Linked DNA regions of Homo sapiens: region 1 is linked to region 2. Evidence: promoter capture Hi-C in human tissues and cell types (Jung and others, 2019). All regions are on one chromosome and are shown on one strand. The core of a region is centred on a gene start or on the middle of the fragment in contact, and the rest is flanking DNA. Distances in the headings are between cores, read along the strand shown. Region 1 overlaps SLC39A11 (solute carrier family 39 member 11). Region 2 holds the start of COG1 (component of oligomeric golgi complex 1).

Region 1 (7,243 bases), core at 248-2,747, 400 kb after region 2:
CAATTCGCCCTCCTCAACCCTTTACTTGGCCCTGTCTTCCATTATTCCCCCAAGCAAATAGAGCCTTTCCTTGCCAGTACCCCATCTTTTAAATTAGCCCTCATCTAATGCTACCTTCTTCTTGCCTGATCATCTTCATGGAAGATGGAAGGAGGAGGAAGGAGAGACACTCAAGTGCCTTTACCTGCCAGTAGTTACTCTATTCCTTATCTTAGTCAGTGTTCCTACAACCCCATTTCACAGATGTGGACACTGAGCCCTGCAGAGGCTCCGTATTGCCTCCAGCAGTAGAATAGATGGGTTGGCATTCCTCAGGGACATGGCTACTATTATTTATTATTATTAACACTAGCATAGCCTCTTGAGCTGCTTTGGATGGCGGGTATTTGTGCACAAGTCTTACATCCTCAGCAAGATGGTAAACCCCTTGTAGGTAGATTCTTGTTTTGTATTAGGCACATTGAACATGGAACAATGTGTGAGATACACGCTCCTCACACACAGGCACTTTCAAGCTACAACACTGTTGCAGGAATCACGAAGTTCAAGCTCTGACTCCCTCAGGAAAGTTCAGGGACGGCCCCATCCTAGGGACAGCTCCCTTCTGACACATGCTGTACACATCACTTCTTTGGCACTTGCCACCTTGTATTGCATTCTCGGTCATCATTTCGTCTGTGTGTTATGCCCACAGGTAACTTTGAAAATCAGGGCTGGGTTGTCACATCTTCTTGCATACTTAGCACTTCACAGTATCGAGCATGTCAGTGAAACCCCTGCGTGGTGGTGGGTGCCTGTAATCCCAGCTACTCAGGAGGCTGAGGTGGGAGAATTGCACTTAGTCAGTGCTAAGTCAGCATCGAATTTGAGGTGGTGATGCTGCTGGATTTGTGTGTGTGTGGTTTGCTCTGGGCACAGCGTGCCCCCTCCAGGGCCTAGGTCTCGTTTTTTCAGCTGCCTGTTGAAACGTGCTTTCTGCTCATGATTCTGTCTTCCCTTTCCCCTCTGTTCTCCTTTGCCACTCGCCCTTCCCCTCACCTGGCATGCCCTGGGCTGTGCCTGCAGGGGCCAAGCTCAGACTGCTGTGTGGTTGATCCTGGAAGCCCAGCTCCACGGGGAGGGTGTATTTCCAAGAATCTGTAGCAGTGGTCTTGGGAATAGGAGCGCAGCAAAAAGCCCTCCTTCTCATGCATATAGAGTGACCCCACCAGCAGAAGCCAGGAAAAACCTACTGGCTGGCTTCCCTGGGTGCTGTTGATGGGAGTGTGTGGATTTGAAGCCTGTCGCTACCAAGAGGACGATGAGAGAAGCCTCGCTTGATAAAGGAGATGTGACTTCCCGGCTCTTCTGTCTCGTGTGTTGGAAAATAGGTTTTCTGTTTTACCAGCAGCCTGCTGAGCCAGTCTAAGGAGTTTCCTGCTGCCTGAGGCTCAGCCCAGGGCTTCATCCTCATAACTCAGAGTATGTGAGCTGCAGTCCTAGCAAATGGAGGCTGGTTGGCCTGCTGCTCTGAATTTGTATTTCATTATCTTAGCATTGCACTGTATAAAAATTCTTGCAATTTTGACCTCTTTGTTGTAGTCATTTTCTATATACTATTTCTTCTCCCCCCAGTATTCTTCCCTCTTTCATTTGTTATTTGCTCATTTGCTTATTCATCCAATAAATATCTCTTGAGCCCCTGTTACATACCAAATGGTGTGCTATTCACCAGGGATATAGCTTATAATAGTCCTTGTCTTCCTGAAGCCTTGGATTTAGAAAGAGAGACTGATAGTACCCTGCAGATTACACACATAATTGGTTAATTGCCTCTGTGACAAGTAGTAAGAAGCCGAGGCATGGTGTGCTATGACCACTGAGCCACCTCACAGGGAATTTTGAACTCTTCTGTTGGGAGGATGGGTGGTTTTAATAATATGTCCAGAAATCTGTTAATATCATCCCTTCAAGAAATAGAGCAATAGAGCCTAATTCTCCTTCTCCAGTGTGTGCTAGACTTCTCAGTGGTTCACTTCTAACAAATAGGAAAAAGCAAAAGTGATGGTGTGCGACCTTAGAGTTGAGGTCAAGTGAAGTCTCTGTGGCTTCCATCTTGGTTGCTCTGTTGTGCTATCACTGTCTTGCTCTCTTGCACTCTCTCTCTCTCTTTCTCTGTCATGTCTTGCTCTGTGGGAAGCCAGCTGCCATGTTATCAGCAGCCCTGTGTCTTTAAGGCAAACCTATGATGCCAAGGGACTGAAACTCCAAGCCAGCAGCTGCACAGGTGAGCTTGGAAGTGGATCCTTCAGCCCCACTCAAGCCTTCTGATGACAACAGCCCAGGCTACTGTCATGACTGAAGCCTCATGACAGACCCCGAGCCAGGGCCATCCAGCTAAGCCCCTCCTGGATTCTGAGTCTCAGAGACTGAGACCATACAGGATTATTGGTATGAGCCACCAAATTTGCAGGGAAGATGTTATACAGCAGTAGATTGTTAATACAGGGCATGAGGGAGATAAATTATTTGATACTCTGCGTACCTGAAAATGTTATCATAACTTCACTTTGGGCTGATAACTTGACTGTGGATAGAATCTTCTTTCACAGTCGGAGGTCCTCTGCCCTCAGAATTCTGGTGGCATTCATCCCTCATATCCAGTGTGGATGCTAATGTCGTGGATGTTGACAGGTCTTGTGCCTTTCTTTCCCCATCCCTGACCCACAGAAACAGTGTGAGATAGTCAATGTGTGTTGTTTTGAGCTGCTAAATGTTGGGTACCTTGTTATACAGCAAAAGATAATTAATTCAGAGGGGCAGAGAGGAGGCACTTGCTGGAGGAAATGAAAGTCACCCTGGGACTTGAAGGAAGAGAATAAATTGGCCAGGTGAAGAGATGGGAAGAGGGAGGCGAGTGTCCCAGGCTAAGGGCATAGCACACACAAAGCCCTGCACAAGTAAGGTGCTAATGAGATGCAGGAAAAGAAGGGAGGACTGGACAGTTTGAGTGTAGAGAAGGAGGGAGCAGGGAGTGGCTTGGACACAGCTGGGGATATAGGCAGAGGACAGGACACCGGGGCCTTGGGGACCATGATAAGCACTTTGCACTTCATCTTTAGAGTGATGAGAAGAAACGAAGGCTTCAGTCAGGGGAACAATATTATCAGATTTTCTCACTCAATTAGAAAAATGATTGGCTGGGACCCAACAGAAGGATTGTGGAGTCAGTGTGAGTCCTCACCGCGCTCGCTGGCTTGGTGGGGGCTGGTTGCCTCTGCTGTATTCTCCAAGGCTTTGCTGCCTTTTCTCCAGCAAGCTCCTTTCTTATGATGGGTGATTTGTACTCATGGACTGTGTGATGGTGATGAGCAGGAGCTTCTGAATTTCCTTTCTAGGTGAGAGCAGGTGCTGGGACCCATTGTGAGCTGTGTACAGTGACTGTTCCCAGGCGTTCCCATCAGCTCCAAGGTGCAAAATCTCATTTTCTCAGGATGGGTAAAGCTTCTCTCAGGAGAATGCCACAAACCTCAGGCAGAGCCTGATGCTAACAATGGCCTAGATTTTGAAGGCTGTTATTACAGTTAGAGGCAGGACTATGGGTCCCTCAAGCTTTCTTTCAACCTGAAGACTCTTTGTTCTTCTCTGTATACTGGCCGGTGTGGTATCAGCTGTGTCATTTGTAACCCAGCCTTGCTGTGAAGGGGGAGAAAGGATACAGGAGTCAGGTTCTGCAACTGCCAAGGTACACTCCCCTAGCCTTAATCTTAGAGAAGCAGAATTTGTTGATCATTGTTATTCATTTCCTTTCTGGGCACTGTATTCCATTAATTCAGATAGAACGATGTGCACATCAAGAGGCATTTTCCAGACTGGGTGTGGCAGCTCACGCCTGTAATCCCAACACTTTGGGAGGCTGAGGCAGGAATATTGCTTGAGGCCAGGAGTTTGAGACCAGCCTGGGTAACATAGCGAGACCCCATCTCTGTGTTTTTAAAAAAAAATTAAAAAAAGAAGCATTTCCCTCTTAAAAGCTAGAAATCTGGTACCCTTAGTCCTTTTCCTCCCTGTCTATTTCTCTATTCCACGCAATCCAATCTGCCATCACATGTTATACATTGTATGAAAGAAAGAAAATCTCTCCCTTTCAAACATAAACACCTTAGGGTACCAGGCAATTCATGTAAACACAGCAAGTCAGCTAATAAAAGACAGTAGGGAGGGGTGGGGTCTGTGGCTAACTGGAGAATGCTTTCTCAGCTCTAGGACTTAAGATGTGCCAGCCAAAACCTGTCTGTCACCCTTGTTGCATGGCACCCTGGGAATCTGTGACCCTGCCTCTCTTCTTTGATCATCCTGCTTCTCTGTCTCAGGGTGTACAATAGCCTTTGTCTGGTGCTTTGCCATAAGCCCATCCTCATTCTAGCTTTTCCCACACCATCCCCCAGAATTATCTTCCTAAAATGGCAAATCTGCTCCTCACTCCCTGACTTACAGGCCTCTGTTGACTGACCAGAGCCTCCAGGATGCAGTCCAAACACCTTGGGAATGAATATAAAGCCTTTTGTAATTTGCCCGAAATGCTCTGTTTGTATTTTTGTCCCTCGCCCCCACCCCGCCGGCAGTAGGGAGCATCCTGAGCCTTGTTTTGATGTTATCTTTGTGTGTCTGGTCCTAACATAGTCTCTGCAAAAAGAGTCAGTGCCATATGCTAGTGAATGAATGTGTTTGTGCATGCTGCGCACAATGGGCAGTGTTTATGTCCTTATTAATTTCCAGTGGGGTGTGTGGAGGAGCTGGTGAAGGAGATGCAACCCCCATATAAAGGAGCATTTAAGTCAGTGGGGGAAGACCCCTGACCTTAACCTCCCACAGCCTCCGCGACCTGGCCTGCATATTGACCCAGGAGGGATCATGGCAGTTCTTACAGAGGTGTGCAGTGTGCCTTGATTAAAGACAGTGGGAGACAGGATAGAACTGTGATTTAAAACTAGAGCGTGGACTCTGGAGCACAGGAGCTTGGGTTCAAATGCTAGCTCTATCACCTCCTCTCTCATACTTTCTAAGGCCTGAAATTTCATGTGCTTCCTTGACACCTTGGAGCCTCACAAAACCTCAAAGACTTAGCTGCGAGTTCCCTGGCTCTGGCTAGATTTCTTCCCACCCAGTAGGAAAGGCTCCCCACCTAGGTAGTTCCACATCAACCAGACCAACTGCACCCAGCCCAGTCCTCAACTTTCTGGGTTCTACCTCACTGCCTGCCAGCAGAATTCTTCAAACAAGCCAGCCACATCCTCCTGCGGGAACTAAGGGTCACCTCACCCTCTTGTCACTACAGAACCTGCCTTGCACAGCCCCTTCTGGTTCACTGTGTGCAACCTTTGAGTGGCCCCACATGGCCTGCGATGTTCTCCTCTTCTGAGTTATGTCACTAGTCTGTGCAGCATTGCTTGTCATATGTTCAGCTGTCTCACACTATTTTCATACTATTTAAGGTGAGGGATGTCTCCCTCACCACTGCAGTGACTAAAGGGGGTCAGAACAACTTGTGAAAATGACCTAACCCTCTGTGCCTCGATTTTCTTCTCTGAGAAATGAGAAGTTATCATACTACATGTGTTAATCCATTCTCATGCCACTATAAAGAACTGCCCGAGACTGGGTAATTTATAAAGGAAAGAGGTTTAACTGACTCACAGATCTGCAGGGTTGGGGAGGCCTCAGGAAACTTACAATCATGGTGGAAGGGGAAGCCAACATGTCCTTCTTCGCATGGCAGCAGGAGAGAGAAGTGCCGAGCAAAAGGGCGAAAAGCCCCTTATAAAACCATCAGATCTTGTGAGAACTCACTTGCTATCATGAGAACAGCATGGGGGGACTGTCTCCATGATCTAATCACCTCTCACGAGCTCCCTCCCCCAACACATGGGGATTACAATTCAAGATGAGATTTGGGTGGGGACACAGAGCCACACTATATCAGTACCTTTATCACAGGTTTGCCATGAGCATTGAATGAAATAATGTCTATAAAGACTTAAAACAGTGCCTACACACAGGAAGCACTGTGGAAGTATTTGTGATTGCAATTTGCTATTTTTGTCTTAGTGCAGTGGCTGTCAAACTTTTTCCTTTGTTTGTTTGTTTTGAGACAGAGTTTCTTTCTGTCACCCAGTCTGGAGTGCAGTGACACTATCTCAGCTCACTGCAATCTCTGCCTCCCAGGTTCAAGCGATTCTCCTGCCTCAGCCTCCTGAGTAGCTGGGACATGGTGTGCACCACCACGCTCGGCTAATTTTTGTATTTTTGTAGAGACAGGGTTTTACCATGTTGGCCAGGCTGGTCTCAAACTCCCAACCTCAAGCAATCTGCCCACCTCGGCCTCCCGAAGTGTTGGGAATCCAGGCATGAGCCACTGTGCCCAGCCGGTTCTCAAACTTAACATGCATCAGAATCACCTGGAGAACTTTGCTGTGTCCCACCCTGAGAATGTCTAATTTAGTAGGTCTGAAATGGGACCTGAGAATTAGTATTTCTAAGTCTCTAGGCAATGCCGATGCTGCTGATCTGAGGCCTCCACTTTGAGAACCACTGGATTCGTGTAAATATCTGCAGGTGAGGGAGCTGGGGATTTGTCTTCAACGTGGCTAAGTTGCTACATGGATTGGCCTCACCATTTGCCTTGAAGCTTTCCTTCTTCCTTCTGCTCAGGGTCCCACTAACTGTACATGTAAATGTGATGCAAATTCAAGAAATTCATTGTTTTTGGCTGGGTGTGGTGGCTTACACCTGTAATCCCAGCACTTTGGGAGGCCGAGGCAGGCGGATCACTTGAGGTCAAGAGTTTGAGACCAGCCTGGCCAACGTGGTGAGACCCCATCTCTACTAAAAAATACAAAAATTAGCTGGGTGTGGTGGCACATGCCTGTAATCCCAGCTACTCAGGAGGCTGAGGCAGGAGAATCGCTTGAACCCAGGAGGCAGAGGTTGCAGTGAGCCATGATCGTACCACTGCACTCCAGCCTGGGCGACAAAGCAAGGCTCTGTCTCAAAAAAAAAAAAGAGAGAGAGAGAGAGAAATTCATTGTTTTCTTTGAAAGATGGATTCTCTTATCTTCTCATTCCTTGGAGAAGCAGCGCTTCAGGTCTGTCCATGGTGTGAAGAATATCCTGGCCAGAGAAAACCACCATCTGGTGTCTTTGTATTCCAGAAGGGTGCGGTTTTGTTGTTCAGATGAGCACTGCCTACTTCCTCACCATGTTC
Region 2 (6,663 bases), core at 2,046-4,545:
GAGTTGCCAGAGTCAGGAGTGTTGTAAGATCCCATGGTTTTTCCTACACACGCGTGCATTTTTGCTCAGCCCCACGAAGAGGCAAACTTTCGTCTCCCACCAGGCCCCACCTCCAACATTGGGGATTATAATTCAACATGAGATGTGGGCAAGACACAAATCCAAACCACAGCAAATGGATCAGTGCCTCATAAAAGGGCTGGAGGCAACTTTTAGGTTCTTCTACCTTCCCCCACGTGAGGATACAGCAAGAAGGCCCTCACCAGACATCAAAGGCCAGTGCCTTAATCTTGGACTTCCCAGACCCACAACTGTGAAAAATACACTTGTGTTATAAATTGCCCAATCTCAGGTATTTTGTTATGGCAGCACAAATGGACTAAGAAACCTAAATTCCAAATCTCATCATGCCCTTAAGGTCCCTCCTTACTAAGAACAACCCAAGCCTAAACTGACTTCCTTCAGAACTCCTAGGGTAAATATACACAATTATTTTGGGAATCAAACATCCCGGGTTCCAGTGATTCTCCTGCCTCAGCCTCCTGAGTAGCTGGGATCGCAGGTGCGTGTCGCCACGCCTGGCTAATTTTTGTATTTTCAGTAGAGACAGGGTTTTACCATGTTGGCCAGGCTGGTCTCAAACTCCTGACCTCAAGTGATCCACCGCCTCAGCCTCCCAAAGTGCTGGGATAACAGGCCTGAGCCACCGCGCCCAGCCTTTTTTTTTTTTTTTTTTGGGACAGCATCTCACTTTGTTGCCCAGGCTGGGGTGCAGTGGTGCGATCATGGCTCACTGCAGCCTTGACCTCTTGGGCTCAAGAGATCTTCCCACTTCAGCCTTCCAAGTAGCTGGGACCACAGGCATGTGCCACCATGCCCGCTCACTTTTTGGTATTTTTTGTAGAGATGGTGTTTCACCGTGTTGCCCAGGTTGGTTTCAAACTCCTGTGATCAAGCAATCCACCTGCCTTGGCCTCCCAAAGTGCTGGCATGAGCCACAGCGCCTGACCTGTTATTCTAAATTTTTTTACATTTTTTTCTCGTCAAGTTTCCATGGATTTATTTCCTCGACCAGGTTGTAAGCTCCTTCAGAGCAGGAATTGGGGGACTTCTGTTTCTTTGTAATGTGAACGAAGAAGACACTCAAATTTTTGTAGGGTTAACCGAGAATAAACCAGATATAACAACTATGAAAATCAATACGTTTCTAAAATCAGGCATAATTCAAGTTAGCGTTTTAATAAACCCTGAAGCATGACTCAGTTACAGCAAAGGCTGGCCACCTAAGGGGACACGTGTACTAAATGTTAGCTTTGGGAGGGATGAGGTCACTCATTTCAAAAATATGCAAACTTATTTGCAACTTCCTATAGTTTTATTGTGTCAGTCCAGTCTACTGACCAGGATTTCTGTAAAGCTCAGATAGCATGAACAAGTTCCAAATTGGAGTTAGACTGTACTTTTCAATTTTTTCTTCTATGTCCCAGTAAGTTCTCCCAGGCTGTTAAAAACAACTAACTGTTTACCTTTTTCACCCTTCATGCCCTTTCACTTCGTTCATTGCTAGGTCTATATTCTTTAAGGGGCCGTGCGCGGTGGCTCTCGCGCCTGTAATCCCATCACTTTGGGAGGCCAAGGCAGGCAGATCACATGAGGTCAGGGGTTGGAGACCAGCCGGGCCAATATGGTGAAACCCCGTCTCTACTGAAAGTACAAAAATTAGTCGGACATGGTGGCAGGTGCCTGTAATCCCAGCTACGCGGGTGGCTGAGGCAGGAGAATCGCTTGAACCCGGGAGGCGGAGGTTGCAGTGAGCCGAGATCGCGCCACTGCACTCCAGCCTGGGTGACAGAGCGAGATCCTGTCTCAAAAAATAAAGAAATAAAAATTCTTTTTTTTTTTTTTTTTGAGACAGAGTCTCGCTCTGTGGCCCAGGCTGGAGTGCAGTGGCGCGATCTCGGCTCACTGCAAGCTCCGCCTCCCGGGTTCATGCCATTCTCCTGCCTCAGCCTCCCAGGTAGCTGGGACTACAGGCGCCGGCCACCACGCCTGGCTAATTTTGTGTATTTTTAGTAGAGACGGGGTTTCACCGTGTTAGCCAGGATGGTCTGGATCTCCTGACCTCGTGATCCACCCGCCTCGGCCTCCCAAAGTGCTGGGATTACAGGCGTGAGCCACCGCACCCGGCCAATAAAAATTCTTTAGGAACGCAAGCTGCAGCTCCAATATGAGGATGTGTTTGTTTACCTCCCATCCTTCCTCATTGTGTCTAATCAATAGCGTTTGGGGGGAAGAACACGGGATAAGGAGAACCTGAATGAAAAAAGCCTTAGTTCTGAAAATGAAAATGTTCAGCTATTAAAAGGTAAGGGCTTGGCCGGCTGTGGTGGCTCATGACTGTAATCCCAGCACTTTGGGAGACCCTGTCACATACATACATAAAGTTAAGGGCTTGATAGCTGGTACCCTCAACAACTCCCAAAGGGTAGAACAGCTATTTGGGGTTGTGGAAGTTATTCTTGGGGAGATAAGGGGAAGGTTGGGATGAGGAAGAAATGACTTGGAGTGCAGGTGTCAACATAGGGGAGAAACCTGAGGAAAAACAATGTCAGGACATGTTATATAGGTGAGCGTTGAACTGTCAAGACAGAAACTCCTGGCGTTTTCCGCTAAAATTGAAAGGAGCCCAGTGAGGTGTAGGAATCAAGGCCCGGAAGTCGGGGGAAAGCGCCTGAAGAAACTGTTGAATGGCATTTCCAGAACGGATCAGCAGCCGCATATGTGCAAGGAAGGCTGGCACTGTCCTCTGAGGGGGGCCCAAAGGGTGAGGGGCGGATAGGCTCCTGGCTAAGGAAGGTGAGGACTCGCGGGGTCTGGGACTGACAGAGGGGGGCGGGGTTGACCTGCAAGGCCAGGGGCTCCGGGACCCGCCTGCGGGTCGCAGGGTGGGGGCACGGGGACTGACCTGCTGGGCCCGCGGTGGCCGGGGCGCGGCCGAGCCGGCCTGGCGGAGGCGGGCGCAGTACTGGTCGGTGGCCTTCACGGCGTCCACTAGCCCCACGGCGCAGCGGCGCATCTGGCCGATGGTGTCGGCCGCCTCGATCAGGTCGCGGTACCGTTCGCCCACCATCTGCCGCAGCTCCTCCTTCTTGTGCTCGATCTCGGCCCGAACCTGGCGCTCCAGCCCGCGGATCTCCTCCGCTCCATGCGTCTCGAAAAGAGCCGCAGGGTCGCGCAGATCCAGCCGCTTCAGCGCGGGTGAGGTTGCCGCGGTGGCCATGGTGCACTCGTCAGCCCCCGGCGATCTACCTACGCCCTTTTAGTCCCGCCCCCTCCGCCATCTTCGTTGGGGGCGGAAGCGCTTCCGCCCCGCCGGGGGCCATGTTTGTTACCCGAGGGGGCGGGCGCGAGGGGGCGGGCGCGAGGGGGCGGGCGCGAGGGGGCGGGCGCGAGGGGGCGGGCGCGAGGGGGCGGGCGCGAGGGGGCGGGCGCGAGGGGGCGGGGGCGGGCGCGGGCGCGGGGGCGGGCGCGGTCCTGCGCGGGGTTTTCTTAAACGGAGCCGGCTGGGAAGTGAGGTCGCCAGAGAGGTGAGGTCGCCAGGTTGGCTGCGAAACTGTGGCTGAAGTCTTCCCTTTCCCTTAGGAGCAGAGCTTCTCTGTGGAGTTAGGTGTCGGGATCGGGCCCCGCGGACTGACGGCGTTGGCGCAGGCGCAGCCGCCGCTCTCCGCGCGCCTGGCGCCCGCGAGCAGACTCGGGCGCGCTCGCCGCCGCTGGGTCTCGGATCGCACCCCGCGTGCAGTTTTAGGAAGAGGGACATCCGCGCCCCTCGCTGTTCCCCGGGAAGAGCTACCACGCCGCCCCTGAAGGGGTTCTGAGCGCTTGTTTGGCGTCTGCTTTTCCTCTGCTGTTGATTCGTGTTGGAGGTTTTCCATTTCGTTTAAAACCGATGTTTAGCCCCTGAAGACGTTTTCCCTGCGAGAGCCTGACCTTGGTGGCCATGGGGGAGGAGGGCGGCGGGCTGGGCGGGAGAGGCTGGGACGCCCCGGGGAACGCAGCGCCAGACGGGTGGGCGCTCCTCACGTGGCCCAGGAATAGTAGAATCTGGAGATTGTGGCTTGTTTCTGCTAAGTCCCAGACCCTTCTTTTTTTTTTTTTCTGTTTTAATTTCTTTTGGAAGATTTCACCCACACCAGTGTCGACAAAATGATGCAATGTGCGCAGCGGCCATGCTGAGCCCCCAGCAACTCAGGGCCTACCCTGCATCCCTGCTCATTCCCTCTCCCACCCGCCACCTCCGGACGCACAGAATTTCAATCTGCAAATAAATGGTGCATTTATAATATTCCAGTTTAACCCGCAAGAGCCTTGCGGCGTAGGGAGTATCATTCTCACTTTACAGACTCATTTTACAGATGGGGAAACGGGGGCCCGGAGAGGCAAAGGGTTTTTTACTCAGTAAAAGTGCAGTTTTCAGAGCCTGTCCACGAGATTATCTCATTTTCTCGCACATCGGCCATGCCAGGTAGGTAGGAGTAATATTCCTAGTCCATTTATGAGGAAAAAAAAAAAAGAAACAAAAGCTTATTTACCTGCCCAAATTACATAGCTGATAGGTGACCCAGTGAGTATTTGGACGTCGATTTTTAAATTACTGGCTCGCGCTCTTTTCTACGTTTTCACATAATTTCCCACAGAGCACCCTCTGTTGGCAGGCCTGCAGTTTGCAGTCTCTAATCCCATTCTGCAAGGGACACTTACTGGTATTCGGCTGATAAGCATCCGCAGTATCTCCTTTCTGTGATTGGGGAATTCATCGCTATCTAGCAAAATCTTTTTTTCTGGCGCCCTTTATAGCTACGGTGCCAGCCTGCGGCCTGGGACTGGCACAGCAGGCACAAGCGCCTAGGACTTGGGTGAAGAGTTAGTGACATTAAGAAGCAGGCTGTAATCCCAGCACTTTGGGAGCCCAAGGCGTGTGGATCCCTTGAGCCCAGGAGTTCAAGACCAGCCTGGGCAACACGGCCAAACCCCGTCCTTACAAAAAAATACAAAAAAAGGGGCGCGCGCCGGGTGGCTCATGCCTGTAATCCCAGCACTTTGGGAGGCCGAGGCAGGCGGATCACATGAGGTCAGGAGTTCGAGACCAGCCTGGCCAACATGGTGATACCCTGTCTCTACTAAAAATACAAAAATTAGCTGGGCGTGGTGGCGCACATCTATAATCCCAGCTACTCGGGAGGCTGAGGCAGCAGACAGGAAGCTGAGGCAGGAGAATCACTTGAACCTGGGAGACGGAGGTTGCAGTGAGCCGAGATCGAGACACTGCACTCCAGCCTGAGCGACAGAGTGAGGCTCCGTCTCAAAAAAAAAAAGAAAAAGAAAATTAGCCGGGAGTAGTGGTGTGGGCCTGTGGACCTGTAGTCCCAGCCACTTGACAAGAGGCAAGTGAGGCAAGAGGATCACTTGAGCCTCTGGAGGTCGAGACTGCGTCAGTGAGCCATGATTGGGCCACTGCATTCCAGCCTAGACAACAGAACAAGACCCTGTCTCAAAAAAAAAAAAAAAAAAAAATCGCAGGTGACAGGGGCGATTGCATTTTGGTGGTGGCACAGGTATCACCGGCAACATCCACTCCCTAAGGACAGCAAGGGCAGTGAACTTAGCTCCAGCTCCCAGCTGCTAATGCTGGCGGTGGTGCTGGTGGCAGCCGTGGGCACCCACAATGACGTCCTCGACAGAATCACCATGTGGTGTGCTCGTCTAGGTTTTAAATGTTCTGTTTCCCTTCCTTCCTTCCTGCCTGTCCCCTGAACCTGCCTCCCCATCTTTCCCAGAGATTCTATGAACTGTGCAGTGTCTTACTGATCAATTTTGTTTCTTTGAAAATCAAAATCGGTTTCCCTGGTTTGCCCTAGCCCTAACTGATATACACTGCACTAAGGTTCCAGCTCCATGAGAGTTTGGTTGAAGCCTTTCTTACAGCAAGGGGAGAAATGTCAACATATCAGGGATAGTGGGGGGCCCAGGGCTTTGTATGGGATGGTCCTTGCGCTTGTGCACAATACCTGTAAGCTCAGGTAGAGAAAAGACAAACTGGCCAGCTGTCAACACTGCAGTGTGTGTGTGTGTGTGTGTGTGTGTGTGTGTGTGTGTTCTGAGTCAGGTAGAGAAAAGACAAACTGGCCAGCTGTCAACACTGCAGTGTGTGTGTGTGTCTGTGTGTGTTTGTGTGTGTTCTGAGACAGGGTCTCACTGTTGCCCAGGCTGGAGTGCAGGGGTGCAATCACGGCTCACTGAAGCCTCCACCTCTTGGGCTCAAGCAATCCTCCCACCTCTGCCTCCCTAGTAGCTGGGATTAACAGGTGTGCACCACCATGCCCGGCTAATTTTTTAATTTTTGTGTAAAGACAGGGCCTCACTCTGTTGCCCAGGCTGGTCTCAAACTCTTGGGCTAGAGGGATCCTCCCACCTCAGCCTCCCAAAGTGCTCGGGTTACAGGTGTGAGCCACCTCACCTAGTCCAGAGTGTGGTTTGAAATCAGGGTGTTCCCTGCCTTTCCTCTGTATTTCCCTGGCCAAGTTCATCTGACTGGCCTGAAGATGCCACTGTTGTTCCTCTGCCTGCAGAACTGAGCACTGACAGAAGCTGTCACCTGACTGCCTG

What was found. The method cuts DNA at HindIII sites, captures the fragments that hold promoters and counts their contacts. A contact is called where the count stands out against the background at its distance.
Region 1: a contact is called between a fragment that was not itself captured here and the fragment with the promoter of COG1 in region 2, in 2 of the 25 tissues and cell types used here (mesendoderm cells and thymus).

Annotation. Positions count from the first base shown.
Region 1 is chr17:72,790,336-72,797,578 of GRCh38, reverse strand. The region is part of intron 6 of SLC39A11 (solute carrier family 39 member 11); the gene reads left to right. Among named protein-coding and RNA genes, the nearest start is that of LINC00511, 150 kb to the right of the region's middle. The HindIII fragment of the contact is 7,264 bases long and covers 1-5,129 here.
Region 2 is chr17:73,189,687-73,196,349 of GRCh38, reverse strand. COG1 (component of oligomeric golgi complex 1) reads right to left here and starts at 3,295. Exons shown (of 14, transcript NM_018714.3): 1 at 2,966-3,295. The coding sequence starts at 3,280. RefSeq lists a silencer at 2,804-3,013 and enhancers at 3,064-3,343, 3,974-4,023, 3,309-4,068. The HindIII fragment of the contact is 14,916 bases long and covers 1-6,663 here.